Linked DNA regions of Homo sapiens: all the other regions are linked to region 1. Evidence: promoter capture Hi-C in 16 types of primary human blood cells and fetal thymus (Javierre and others, 2016). All regions are on one chromosome and are shown on one strand. The core of a region is centred on a gene start or on the middle of the fragment in contact, and the rest is flanking DNA. Distances in the headings are between cores, read along the strand shown.

Evidence for each region. The method cuts DNA at HindIII sites, captures the fragments that hold promoters and counts their contacts. A CHiCAGO score of 5 or more calls a contact.
Region 2: a fragment that was not itself captured here is called in contact with the fragment with the promoter of ANGPTL1 in region 1 in 1 of 17 cell types (naive B cells); the score reaches 8.3 in naive B cells.
Region 3: a fragment that was not itself captured here is called in contact with the fragment with the promoter of ANGPTL1 in region 1 in 2 of 17 cell types (total B cells and naive B cells); the score reaches 9.1 in total B cells.
Region 4: a fragment that was not itself captured here is called in contact with the fragment with the promoter of ANGPTL1 in region 1 in 2 of 17 cell types (total B cells and naive B cells); the score reaches 6.3 in total B cells.

What each region holds. Positions count from the first base shown.
Region 1 is chr1:178,869,468-178,873,059 of GRCh38, reverse strand. It overlaps ANGPTL1 (angiopoietin like 1), which reads left to right and starts at 1,983. Exons shown (of 6, transcript NM_004673.4): 1 at 1,983-2,319. The region is part of intron 8 of RALGPS2 (Ral GEF with PH domain and SH3 binding motif 2); the gene reads right to left. The HindIII fragment of the contact is 10,209 bases long and covers 1-3,592 here.
Region 2 is chr1:178,550,797-178,554,388 of GRCh38, reverse strand. It overlaps LOC105371632 (a long non-coding RNA gene), which reads left to right. Exons shown (of 4, transcript XR_922315.3): 4 at 1-239. Among named protein-coding and RNA genes, the nearest start is that of C1orf220, 9.8 kb to the right of the region's middle. The HindIII fragment of the contact is 8,210 bases long and covers 1-3,592 here.
Region 3 is chr1:178,575,600-178,579,191 of GRCh38, reverse strand. LOC105371632 (a long non-coding RNA gene) reads left to right here. Exons shown (of 4, transcript XR_922315.3): 1 at 1-3,592. Among named protein-coding and RNA genes, the nearest start is that of C1orf220, 35 kb to the right of the region's middle. The HindIII fragment of the contact is 986 bases long and covers 1,413-2,398 here.
Region 4 is chr1:178,604,955-178,608,546 of GRCh38, reverse strand. No RefSeq gene overlaps it. Among named protein-coding and RNA genes, the nearest start is that of C1orf220, 64 kb to the right of the region's middle. RefSeq lists enhancers at 143-222, 2,327-2,466, 2,477-2,626. The HindIII fragment of the contact is 1,463 bases long and covers 1,140-2,602 here.

The DNA of each region.
Region 1 (3,592 bases), core at 734-3,233:
TTTCGTATCTTCCCCCTAAGCCCCCACCATTCTTCTTTTTCCTCATGTTTCTTGTAAGCTGGTTTCCTGGAAATTGGTATCATGGTCTGTCATTAACCTTCCTTTACATTCTACATGTACTTTCTCTAGTATCTTAGTTCCATAGCTTTAGCTACTACCTAATTGCTGGTGACTTTCAAATCTCTCCATATAACTGAGCTCCTGACTTTCATTTTCAATTTAACATATCTAACCATAATCTGTCCCTAAATACCTGTCATTCCAATTTCCTACCCTGGCTAGTGATATTACTAAGTGCTCAAGTTAGAAAGCTCCAAACTGCTGAAAGTTTAAAAGCTCAGAAAGAATTTATTATCTCTTATTTTTCCCAGATTTAAGCCATTAGTGACTACAACATAATTACTGAATGCTCAAGAAACGATACATAATACAAATCAGAGGCCAGAAGCTGGCAGCACATCTGTCCCAATGTTTTTTAAAATCAGGAAGTATTACAGGAAAAATCTAAATGGCTCTTTTTTCCTGAATAATGGGAAGATCTGGCAACACTGTCTCATAATCCTTCATGGCCACAAGCACAGCTGAGAAGGTGCAGGCAGATCCCTTTAAATTAACCAAAAGGATGCCAACTTGCCATAAACTTCATTTCCCTCCAGTATCTTACTACTGATTTACTTCACTGATTTATATTACCTGCTCCATTCTTCTTGTGAGCATTTGCCTTTCTAGGCCCTTGTGTTTGCAACCTCTGGTATACCTATATATGGCATAGGAATTCAAATAAATGATTCTGTGAAAGAGGTAGAAAATAAGCTCAGACTTTAAATAAAGGATGTGGATCAACAGTGTGGCCTAACAGAAAGAGAAACACAGCACAAGCTACAGCAATAAGGAAGGGAAAGCACAGGTATGTAGAGAAAGCCCAAAAGTTTTATCTAGAAGCAGCTTACAGCAACTAGGTAATCAATGACAGAGAGTGTGGCATAATGCTTTGGCATTAGATTCAAATCCCAGTTCCACTACTTAGTACTTAAGTGCTAAGCTAAGTTACTTAAGCCTAAGTTTGTGTTTCTTCAGCTACTGAGTTATTTAACATTTCTTCAATTAATGAAATACAATAGTATAGTTGTACTCAACACTTATTCATTTCTTCCACCACCTTATTTCATAGCAGAAGAACCTTGCCAGAGGCAGGTAAAGTGATTTGTCTAAGTTCACATAGCTGGCATAGAGTCAGAGCTTCCTTGTTTTTTACTCAGTTCAGGGTTATGTTTGTTTTTAAACCACACCACATCAATTAATAACAAGAATGACCTTTTACAGAGAGGAGAGGTCATTTTGTAGAATAGGAGGATATGACATTATGTAACACCAGAATGTAATATTTAAAAGTCTTAAGCATCTGAAAGAATTTCACTTATGTTTGGTAATTATATATAAAGGCTGTTTTATCTTAAGACACATTACACAGTAAGACATAACATACTACAACAACATCAAGTTTCTTGTAAGTTTAAAACCTTCATTAGCAACTTAGTAAAATGTTTACAAATTCTTCTAGGCTATAAAGAGTATTTATTACATTATTTAGGTGGCTGCCTCCTGACAAAGTCTAGCTCTTGTTCTTTGTTAACAAAAACCAAACTCATCAGCCTGCAACTACTTCTAAGTGAAGTGGAGCACTATTTTTTTTTTCGGTATTCAACTTAAAAGATCTCTGGCCAGCAGACTAAAATGTTTGTTTTATAATTGCCCGCTGAACTATGATAGTTTGTTTCCAGATGGTGCCCTTCCTTCAACCTGCACACAATCTCTCCTTGTTCAAAACTATTCAACCTCCTGCTGATCCCACCCCCCTATTTAAGGCTACAAAGAGGAAATCCTAAGGAGATTCCCGCCCCCAGTCTCCAGCAATTTTTGGTGATGTAATATGTGGGCTGAACTTGAGTCTACTGAGAAAGAGGGAATCACTATTCAGGGGTACTGTATATACAATCTGGGTCAGCTGCAGCTGGTTACTGCATTTCTCCATGTGGCAGACAGAGCAAAGCCACAACGCTTTCTCTGCTGGATTAAAGACGGCCCACAGACCAGAACTTCCACTATACTACTTAAAATTACATAGGTGGCTTGTCAAATTCAATTGATTAGTATTGTAAAAGGAAAAAGAAGTTCCTTCTTACAGCTTGGATTCAACGGTCCAAAACAAAAATGCAGCTGCCATTAAAGTCACAGATGAACAAACTTCTACACTGATTTTTAAAATCAAGAATAAGGGCAGCAAGTTTCTGGATTCACTGAATCAACAGACACAAAAAGGTATTTAATATTTCTTTTATTTAAAAATATTATGTATAGCAAATGCATAACTATTTTATATTTGTAGTAGAAATTTCAGAATCTTTTACTAAACAAAGACCTTTGGAATATACTACAGTTTATCTCATCTGAAAAAGGTTTTATCTTGCAACTTGACATAAAAACATTAAGTACTGTGCAATGGTTAATGCATTATTTGAGGTTCAATTTAATGATGTTTAGTGTATATGATTACAGACTGATACATGCATGCCATGCTGGGTTTCTGAAAACAAGTGCTTTAGTGACAGTAGAAAGAAATTTTAACAAGTAACAGATTAAATGTATAAGGCTTACAGCACAATGATTAAAAACAAAGGAATACAAACTAAATAGTCGTGAACACAATTAGTTTCTCTTCCTGCAGCCACAGTGTGTGTGCTGAAGATATACATAAACTGTTGGATTTCTCAGTGTAGTCATAAAACAAAGCTAAGATACAAAAATAGTTGAAAGTCTTTGCAACAAAATCTCAATTACAGTATAACCAAATATTAAGCAGAAATTCTTGTACAGATTTAAGATTAATCTATGGCATTTCTTGTTCCAACTCAAAATTTTAAATAGCTTTCCAGGCTTACATGTAATAGTAATTTAATTTGGATGACAGAAATTAAACTTGCTACAAATGGAATCACTTGGAAAAGCTAAGTTATTGATATACACACAAAAGCATTATGTAAGTGGTATTAACAATAGAAAATAAGAACCCAGAAGATGTAATTAAATTCATGACTAAAAGGCCAAAAATATGTAATATTTTAGGTAGAAATAATTTTGTTAAGCACACATAAGAGGTTTCCTTCAATATTCTATCTGGGAGCTTTTTTTACATGCATTATAAAAACTATTAAAGATAAAATTACTCGTTACCAATAGTATGCCTTAAACCAAAGACACTTAAGTTTGTTAGATTTGGGGCTCCTTTAGCCTTGTAAAAATTAAAGATATTAATGGTTAAGAATCTTGAACAAGCAAATAATGGTAAAGCTAAAATTTTTTCCAACTTTGCTTTTGTGTCCTTTCCTTAAAGATTTAAAACTGTAAATGCTGGCAGGATTTCTGTTAAACACATATTTTACAAGAAATTCTAACAAAATTTCCAAGCAACAGTGGATCTGAAATACTGTCATCTCTCTTTTTTGTTGTTGCATGCTATGGGAAGTGCAGGACTTCATTAAGCCTCAGTTCTTACTGACGCTGTCTTAAGGCAGGCATTTAATCTGAACCCCAA
Region 2 (3,592 bases), core at 486-2,985, 320 kb after region 1:
ACAATAGCATGAACGATCTGTGCCTTAAGGACATACTCCTGCTGCAGTTAACTAGCCCAACCTATTCCTTTAATTCAGCCCATCCCTTCTTTTCCCATAAGGGATACTTCTAGTTAATTTAATATCTATAGAAACAATGCTAATGACTGGCTTGCTGTTAATAAATACGTGGGTAAATCTCTGTTTGGGGCTCTCAGCTCTGAAGGCTGTGAGACCCCTGATTTCCCACTTCACACCTCTATATTTCTGTGTGTGTCTTTAATTCCTCTAGCGCCGCTGGTTTAGGGTCTCCCTGACTGAGCTGGTCTCGGCACCCAGGGGTGCTACTCACAATGACATGGACTTCTTTAATACAAAAGGGACAACTTTGTAAGATAATAGCAATTTCAAATCAAAATCTCTAAAAGTAGGGAGCCATTTATATCCAGAAATTATTCACATCTATAAAAAGATTAATGCTACCCCTACTTAATAACAAATAGATAAAAAAGAAAAATAACTTCTACATGGTACATGACAGTCCATTGTGTAAATCATTTTAAAAGAAGAAGAGGCCAGGTGCCTCTCTTCCACCCACCACACCTCAGAGCAGGAGAGGAAGGAAAAGGAATTTGTCTGCTGGCTCTTTGCTGTCTCCTGGGCAAAGTCTCCTAGCACTCCCAAAGTGCTAAGATTACAGGTGTGAGCATCGCTTGAGCCCAGGAGTTCAAGAACAGCCAGGACAACATGGTGAAACCCCATCTCCACAAAAAATACAAAAATTAGCCAGGAGTGGTGGTGTGTGCCTGTAGTCCTAGCTACTCGGGAAGACCTCCACTTGAGCCTGGAAGGTTGAGGCTGCAGTGATCCGTGATCACACCACTGCACTCCAGCCTGGGTGACGGAGTGACAGTGAGATTCTGTATCCAAAAACAAAACAAAACAAAACAAAACAAAACAAAACAAACAAACAAAAAACCCGCAAGAAGAAGAAGAAAAATGTCCATGTGGAGTCCAGGCATTTTTAAATTCCCTAAATGGGAGGGCTCTGGAAATGTCAGGTGTAGTTACCACTAAATGGGTTTGGGGTTTAAAAGGCAACCCTTTGGGATCAGCCATCATTTCCACTCTCTGTCCTCCTCCAGGAAAATCTGTCACACCTGACATTTGGTAACTTTATCAGCTGGGGCCATGGACAGGCTGTGTTTGGGACTAGGGTGCATCTATAACCTGAGCATTCCCAGGGAGTGGCCCTGGCTTGTCCCCAGGCTGAGAGCTGCTATCAGGTGAGCAGGGCCAGCTGGTGCCAGCAGGAGGAGAGGGAGCCCAGGACCTCTCCCCTACATGTGTGAAGAGCTGCAGATCCCGTGGATGCCAGCTCCCAGAAAAGCAGGTGCTGGTCAGGAGGCCGCCCTGGCGGCAGCCTCTTCCCTGCCCTCCTCCTTTTCTCCCCACCCAGCCAGGGCCCATCCTTGCTCCCTGTTCTCTCCCTGGAATCCAGTTTCTCTTCCTCTCTATGGTGGTGCCTGCTTCAGTCAGGCCTTTGCCAACTCTCACCCACAATCCAAGCTCCATACTGATCTGGCCACCAGCTTAGCTTTTCTCTAGTCCAGTGTTTGATAAGGTCTGCCAACTGTCAGAATCATGAGGTGAGGGGGCAAGTACACATGCTTAAAATGCAAATTCTCAGGCCCTGCCCTGGCCTAGTGAATGAGAATTTCCAGGTAGGGCACAGCAACCTTTACCTCCAACCAGCTGTCTAGGAGATTCTGCTGCAGGCTAATCATTCTCTCCTTGGCTGCCATCTAATTTTATGTAAACACAGATTGGCTCATATCACCCCCTTGCTTTAGGTAGCTGGGGTGGGGATGGGAGGGGTTCGTGTGTCTAGATGTGCCAGACGAACTGGTGGGATTGAGCCACCCAAAGTCTCTTTACTGAGAGCCGGAGATGCTGCCTGACCTGAGAAAGAACTTGTCTTAAGAGACAGGGCGGGCTGGACCTCATGAGGAGGATCAGCCCCAGGAAAGGCCAGTGCTTGGCATTAACTTGGCCCTTGGTTAATAGAGCCAAACAGATACCTGGCCCTAATTTACTATGCCTAAGGACAGAGGGAGTTGTAAGTAAAATCTGGATGTACGATTGCACTAAACATTGCTTAATGCACTCACGCACACCCATGCACTCACATGCAGCAGCACTTTTTAGAGGCCCCTGTAGGAGAGCATTTCTCCCACTTCCACACAGGGTGACTCTGGCCCCCTGAGGACTCTGTGTGTTGGGATGTCTGGCTGGAGAAGGTGAAGACCAGTGCAAAAGGGCAGCAATGCCTGCCAAGGGACACCAGGACCTCACCACTTTAAAATGAAGGCTTTCTCCCCTCCATAGTTAACCCCTACCTGTCGTTTTAGATTCATCAACCCCCTCCCCAAGCAGGCACCCTGATTTCCAGTCATTCCAACCCAAACAATTCCCCTCTGTCCCCTGCACGGGATTAGGCTGCAAACTTCAGTGGCAGGACAATTCGTGGTTGAGGAACTTAAACCCTTATGGGGAAAAACAGACAGTTGGGAGTTGAGACAACAGAGAAGCTAGAAAAACTTCTGTAAATACTCATATAACCAGGACACCACATAGAATACACCACAGAATAAAGACAACGTTTGTGATATTTGCTCATCTTTATTAATTTCCATTAGAATTTGTAGACAATGGAATCTTCCTTCCCTGTATTTTAAAGGAAATGCTTGTCAATGGATTTTGCTTTGCCCCCTATATTATAAACATGAGGGTACTGTCCTTGATTTTTTTAAACTCAGAATGGTTAGCTGTTGTCCTGTTCACAGGCCCCACAGCTGCAATGTCGCCTGGGGAAATGGTAACTTGGATGTTTGCACAGAAAACATGGAGTTGTCCTTTTGCCAGAGGCACAGAGTCCTTACTGCTTCTGATCTTTGGGCCAAAGCTGGCACCATCTCTGCTTCCCCCCTCTCTGATCCCACCACAGTTAGTTCCAAGGCCAGGGTCAGCTCCCTGTAACTTCCACAGAAGCATCTTACGGACAAGACTTCAGCCTGTACTCATCTCTGTGGAAGGAGGCGGATGCCACGACTGGCCACTCTTTTCACTCACCTTATTATCATCTTCCTATAATCTGGTCCCCACAGAGTAGTCACAGTAATAATTGGAAAGTATAAATCAGTCTTATCATGTCCCTACTTAAGATCTTCCAATGACTTCCCATTCTCCTTGGAAGAGAATCCAAGCATTTGGCCATGCCTAAAAGGCCCACATGGCCTGACCTCTGTGACTTCTTCATCTTCCTCTCCCACTTTTCTTCCTCTTCTCCAGCTCAGCGATACTGGCACCCTCTTGCTCCTCATCCAGCACATCAGGGTCCTTCCTGCCCCAGGGCCTTTGTACTTGCTCCGTCTGGAGTGTCCTACCCCCGCCCCCGGTGCTTCCCATCGCTGGCTCCTTCGCTGCTCAGATGTCCTGACCTCAGAGAGGCCTTCCCTAACCACCTCTTTAAACAGCCCCTTTTCTTCTCTCACACTTAAATCTCTTTACCTTGCTTTATTTTCTCAGCGCAAATCGCCATGTGCAACTCTTT
Region 3 (3,592 bases), core at 656-3,155, 290 kb after region 1:
GTCCCAGGCAGCACCAGGGATGCCCCCGGCCGCCTGCTTTGGAAAGGGCTCAACTCCCTAAAATAGAAACAAACCCCAGAAGTGTCTGTAGGTCACAGAATTCAGCATGGCTGAAATTTGAGTGATGTGCACTGCTTTCTCAAGAAAAAAAAAAAAAAGGATGATTTCCAGTGTTAACATAAACCACTTTTATAAAGATTGTTAGTTGGATGTACACAAACATAAAATTGGGTATACAACCCTTGTAAGTTTTCTACAACTATAAAATCAAAATAAGTTCATGATTTGACAAATCAAATATAAAACCAATAAAACTCAAGGTAACATTAATTGAATGAGACAGATAGTGTGATTTTGTGGAGTCAAATTGCCCCTTGCTTGGTAACTCAAGCACCGAGTCGGTTCTCTGAGCTGGGCACGCCTTACACCTGCATTGTCTCATGACTTAAATCTCACGTGGCATCGTCTCTTCAAACTCCTATGGAAACACTGGTTGTGGGCCTTCTGTGAGCTCACTTGGCAAGTACATACTCTACTAAGGCCACTTGCGTTTTCTTCTGATTGGCAATTAACAGTTGACAACTGGCAATTAAAATAGCGCATCTAGGTTGCATTGTGATTGTGAACACTGAGCAAGGCTGGCACTGTACACTCAAACGTGGACATAGGGAGGACCCCAAATATGCTTATATTCTTTAGATTCTTGTCCAAATGAAAAGAATTTTATATTTTAAAAATGACAAACTTCCAACAGATGACTCTTAGTAATATATTAGGAGACTCTCAGAGGAGCAGATCCAGTCTGGGCCTCTACAGATGAGAAACCAAGCCTAGAGAATTGCCTGGGGAAAGAGATGTGGAGGAGCAGAGCTGGCTGGGAAGCAGCCCTTGCCTGGGAGCTGATGCTCCTTCCTTTCCTCTGGCTGTCCTTCCAGCACAACACTGTAGAATTCTGAGGCACAATGGTGCATAGATTCGGCTTGTTGTTTTGAATGTTCATTCAACTGAACTGAATACTTAAAGTTCATTTTTTAAAGGTACTAAATTGAACTAGGGAGTTTCTTTTTCTAGATTTTGATCTTTCAGTATTTAGTAGTATGACTAGAAAGCATCATGTGTGTGTATGTATGTGTGCGTGAAACATAACGTACATCCACAAACTATGGAAGTAAAGATCCAGTTCAGTGAATGATGATGAAGTAAAAACCCATGAAACCACAGCCAGGTCAAGAAATAGAACATTTCCAGAGTGCAGAAGTCTCAGAGTAAGCTCGGTCACAATTCTTTTTCTCCTCTAAAAGTAACCACCATCCTCACTTTTATTATAACAATTTCCTTGCTTTTCTTTAGAGTTTTACTATCTCTATATGCATCCCTAAACAATGTAGTTTAGCTTTGCCCGTTTATAAGCTTTATATCAATGGACCCTGACTCTGAGTATTTGTGTCTTGCTTCTTTTCTTCAACATTATATTTATTAACTCCAACCATGCTGTTGTTAAGTGGCTCTAATTCTTATGCTTTCTATGACAGGCCAGCATTTGGTTTGGTTCCAGCTTGGGGCTATTACAAACACTGCTTCTCTACACATTCTTGTATACATCCTGGTCCACAGCATATGCATGTACACCTGCCTTGATGGCATTTTCCCACATCAGAATTTCTCCACTTGTGAATAGGGTGTGTGAATCTTTAACCTTAGTAGAGAATGGCAACTATTTGCCAAAACTTTGCTTCAATTTAAACTCCCAAAAGCAGACTGGGTGCGGTGATCACACCTGTAATCTCAGCACTTTGGGAGGCTGAGGTGGGAGGATCGCTTGAGCCCAGGAATTCAAGGCCAGCTTGAACAATACAGTGGGACCCCATGTCTACAAAAAAAAGAAAAAAAAATAGCTGGGTATGGTGGTCCACTCCTGTAGTCCCAGCTACTTGGAAGGTGGAGGCTGCAGTGAGCCATGATCGCGCCACCGCACTCCAGCGTGGGTGACAGAGCAAGACCCTGACTCAAAAAATAAATAAAAACAAACTTCCAACAGCAGCGGTTCTCACTATATTCCATCCTCAACAGCACTTGTTATTGTCAAACTTTAAAACTTCAACTGATCAGGTGGCTGTGTAGTGAGTAACATTTCACTGTGAGTTTAATTTGCATTTCCCTGATTATTAAACAAAACCAAGAATCTTTTACTATGTTAATTGGCCACATGAATTTCCTGTTATGTGCCTGTTCAAATCTTTTGACATCTTGCTATTGCCAAATTTAAATTTCCTTTTTAAATAAATTTCATATTCATTAAAATTACATTTGACAGAAAAGTATGTCCGTCTTCCAGGGTACCTCTGCACACCTGAGAACTGTATATAGCTAAAGGTAAAATGTCTAAGATCTGTAAGCTTATAAGCAATTTTTTTTTACTATAAGTCATTGAAAAGATTATAACAATAGTTCACAGAAAAACATGGATTTAGATCATTTTTTCTTATCTCTATTTTCAAATCTAACATCCTTTTTTTGAATTTTGTCCCCTCATTTCCCTATACTTTCATAGAGAACAAACATACTCCTATATATCACAGTCCTTTGTTAAAATCAAGTGCAACCAAAGTTATTTATTATTCTATTCTGTATTTCTCATGCTGTGTGCGATATGAATTGTTAGAAGTTAGCTAAATGTCTGTAATAAAGTAGTGACACTATTGTATATATGACCTTTGCAGCTGAGATAATATTAAGTAAAATATAAATGGCTACAATAGTTATACATATCTAATAAAAATAAATAAACAGCTCACCCAAGCCTGACATCTAGCTTTTGCTCACCTTATCTCCTTTAGACATTTGGGTATGAGCTCACTGGCAAAGAGTGAAGCCCATATAATCTACCATTAAATAAATTATTCAGTAATCTGTGATGTCCTTGTAACATGAGAATCCCCTATTTAAAAAAAAATAGCTGCACTGCTTACAGAGGCACATGCCTGCTATTTATAGTCTTTATGGAAGTTGCTTTGCTAGCAAATCCAACTAGAACTCCCCGGGAATCTACAAGGATTGATGTTTACTGCAGGGTTTTTACACTGAGCTATTTTGCATATGTGTGGGTGTGTGATGCACACACAGAGGACTGACGGAGAAAGCCCAAGCAGGTATGAGGTATTTGTTAGCTCTGCTCCATTTTCCTCTTAACATTCAGGAAACTCAAATAGGGACAAAGTAACTACAGGTCACCCACAGATCCAGTGATATGTATTCCTGACTGTATCCAGGCAACTGGGGCTCTACTTTTTTCTAAGAAGACATGTTAGTTCTCTGCCAACAATGTCAGATTTCTCTCACAGACAAAGCAGACCCAGGGGCACTGAGCCTCCCTTTTTACTTCCCCTTTTCCCCCAGGTGCGAGTATGATGTCCTGAAGACAGGAGGGGATGTGGGTTGCAGGGAGTCAAGGAATCAGGGAGGCAGCTTGCAGATCAGAGTGGGGCAGATGGCCTACATGAATTCTCATTCTGGAAGGGCTGGAAAAGAAACAGCCAGGTTGGCTGGGCATGGTGGCTCACACCTGTAATTCCAGCACTTTGGGAGGTAGAGG
Region 4 (3,592 bases), core at 622-3,121, 260 kb after region 1:
TTTTTTTTTTTTTTGAGACAGAGTCTTGATCTGTCACCCAGGCTGGAATGCAGTGGCATGATCTTTGCTCTCTATAGCCTCCGCCTCCTAGGTTCAAGCAATTCTCGCGCCTCAGCCTCCTGAGAAGCTGGGACTACAGGTGTCTGCCACCACACCCAGCTAATTTTTTGTATTTTTATAGAGATAGGATTTCACCATGTTGGCCAAGCTGGTCTCAGACTCCTGACCTCGGGTAATCTACCCATCTCGGCCTCCCAAGGTGCTGAGATTACAGGCTTGAACCACAGTGCCCGGCCGCAAAGTGCTTTTTGCATTGTTAAGTAGTAAGAAGTGACTCATTGCTTTAACTCAGACCCAAAGGGCCTCTCCCTGGGTCTCCTGACTCCCCCTTCTCCTTACTTGAGTGATTGAGGTCCTCTGAGAGGAACCCCCTCTTGAGCAGTGAAGACCAGACTTTTATTCTGTCACTTAAAGACTCTCACAGTCTGAACCAAACTTAGGCCCATCTGCTGATCCCGGTATCTTGCCACCATTTCAGTCCATTTCTTGTACTTTCACATAAAAGCCTAATTTTTAGGTATCTTGCTGATATTGCCATTTGCCCTTTATTTTCTCTTATGCCTGGCCCAGTGCCAACTTTCTTGTGAGGACTTCCCTGACATCGAAGACTACTATGGTTTACTCCTCTGGGCTCACACAGCACTTGGTCTCTATTGCTGACCTATACATGGTTATCACATAGTTCAAGAATTCCTTGACTCTTGGGGCATAGTTGTCACCTTTTAGGTAGTCTGCTAATCCTATGACTCCTCTCTATTTTTTCAAGACTTGCCTCTTACGCAGCAACCCTATTTGGCCACAGCTGATGGACAAGGGTGAACCCCTGGGCCAATAAGATTCTCTCTTCAGGGACTTTAGAATTGACAGCCAGGATGTTGGTCAGTATTGCTGGAAGTGAGAACACGGCCTTCAGGAGTTGACTCAGCCTTTGTGAAGTGCCCATTTTTGGCCCACCCAGGTACACAGAGGTAGAGAATGTTGTCTGCCAAGGAGATCCAAAAGCAATGAACAGACACCAGAAGCCACGTAACCCAGTGAGAGAAAATGACTGAAAGAAAGCACCTTGGTATCTGAAAGCTTTCTAATTCAGGGTTCCAGTGCTTGAGAGGCCCAGCTATAGTTTCAGCAGCTTTGGGCTCTGTGAACTATCCCTGTATAAATAAATGTCTCCCTTGTGTTTAAGAAAGATGGGTATCATAAAATCATGTGAATGTTCGGTAATAGAGACACATCCAAAGTTTCACGGGGCACCTGGAGGTGAGGGAAAGTAGTCAGGAATGGCTTTCTGTAGAAGGTGATGTTGGTTGGACCAGTAGGGAGGGCACTTCAGACAGCGAGAACAGCATAAGCAATGCTGGGAGCTGCAAGCAGTTCAGTGTTGCTGGCACATAAAGGCATGGACTGGCCAGGAGTGAGGCTGGCCGGAGAGGGTGGCCAGGGGCCCAGTCAGGAGCATCTTGGGTGCCATGGGAAGGAGCCTGGACTTTATCCTGCAGGTCAGGGGTTCTCAACCATGTTTGCACATTAGGATTTCCTGGGAAATTTTAAAAAGAAATATGGTTTCTTTCTCCCATCCAGTCCACTTAAATCAGAATCTCTGGGAATGGAAGCAGGAACTGATTTTTTTTTTTTTTAAGGGCCCAGGTGATTCTAATGAGCAGATAGGCTGGAGAACCTGACAGGATGCCTTGAAGGGGTTTAAGTGAGATATAGACATGGTTTTAGAAAGATCACCATAGATGCTAGACTTTGAGGATGAGACAGAAGGCGGGGTGACTGTGGGCAAACTGCTGCAGTGTGCAGGGAGACGCTGAAGAGAACCTGAAATGGGATGAGGGTGCCAGAATAGAGGGGAAGTTTGCAAACATTATTTAGGAGACAAAATAGTTTTCAGTTTAAGATTTAGTGACTGGAGAGAGATGGAAGGTAGTCAGGGTTGTCCTGAGGGTCCTAGCTTGGGTGACTAAAATTGCCCCAGGCGGCACTCACCAGGGTTAAGCTGTGGATGTGTGGAATATGAGGTGGTGCCTGGTAAAGATCAGGCAGCTGAATAAGGCACCTAAGGCTTCAGGGCTAGACCAGGTGGAAACAAATTTCAGTTTCACAGCTCATTTTGAGTGTTGTCATTTATTTTTTATCATTTATTGAGGAGAACCTCCAAAAAAAAGTCACTTTTGTAGGTTACAAGGTGTTATGGGTGTTGAAAGCAGAGTGAGCCCCACCCCAGACCACCTCCTGAGACAGGGTGTGATGTGTGTCTCCAAGTGCCTTGAAGTCAAGTGACTTCTCAGAGAGGTCTAAAATTAGCAGAGCAGCTGTGCCTAGTGGGTGGCAACACCTCAGCTCACTAGGCCGAGAATGGGGCCTTCCTGCTGTGGGCTCTGTTGTGTGAGTAGGTCAGGAGTTAAAAGCAAGAATCTGTTTCTTTGGAGAATTTCCCCAGGAGCTGCATGTAGTCCCAGTGTGCTCAAAGAGAAGAGAAAATGTCTTCTGTTGCCAGGTGGAAGGGAAAGAACAGGGAGGGGTATGTTGGAAAGAAGCTTCATAGAAGGGCTGATTTTCAAGAACGTTCTCTATGGAAATGACGCCCTTAATGACAGGTGAGGAGTGGAGGAGCTCACACTGGGGAGTCAGTTCTGACAACTGGAAACCTGCTGTGGGCTGTGTTTTGCACAGAATAATGCTGTGTAGATGCTTTTTTTTTTTTTTTTTTTTTTTTTTGAGACAGAGTCTTGCTCTGTCGCCAGGCTGGAGTACAATGGCGCGATCTCGACTCACTGCAAGCTCCGCTCCCGGGTTCACACCATTCTCCTGCCTCAGCCTCCCGAGTAGCTGGGACTACAGGTGCCCACCACACCCAGCTAATTTTTTTTTTTTTTTTTTGTATTTTTAGTAGAGATAGGGTTTCACCGTGTTAGCCAGGATGGTCTCAATCTCCTGACCTCATGATCTGCCCGCCTCAGCCTCCCAAAGTGCTGGGATTACAGGCGTGAGCCACTGCGCCCGGCCTGTAGATGCTTTCTTGTTGTGGGTTTTCACTCTCGGGGGTGGTTCAACCTGGCCTCCAGATCAGGCCTCTGCTGCCAACCCTGCCAACCCAAGGGATTTGTGGTGGGGGCCAGGCAGGTAGGTAGAAGTGGAGGGAGAGGAATCTCTTCACATTTTTTTTTAACATAGTATAGATGTATATAACATATTAAGCATACATTTTAATAGTTTTATATAAAAACTAACCCTCAAGACATATAAAAGCCTGGAGAGGAGATTGGAGGGGAAGGGTAGTAAATGACACAATGTTTCGTTGTGTTTCCATTAGGTTGGATTCTCTCTTCCTTGAGCTTTTGTCTACAGATTATTCTACACACACAGGAAGGATGACTGAGAAAATGAAAAATGGCAAGATACAGGACTCACTACCTAACTGAAAAGTTAAGCATGAACAAGCTGTAGGGGTATTATATATCCAGGAGTATTAATTTATATGGCATTTATCTGGGGATTTTTTTCCTACAAAATACCACCATAATCCCAG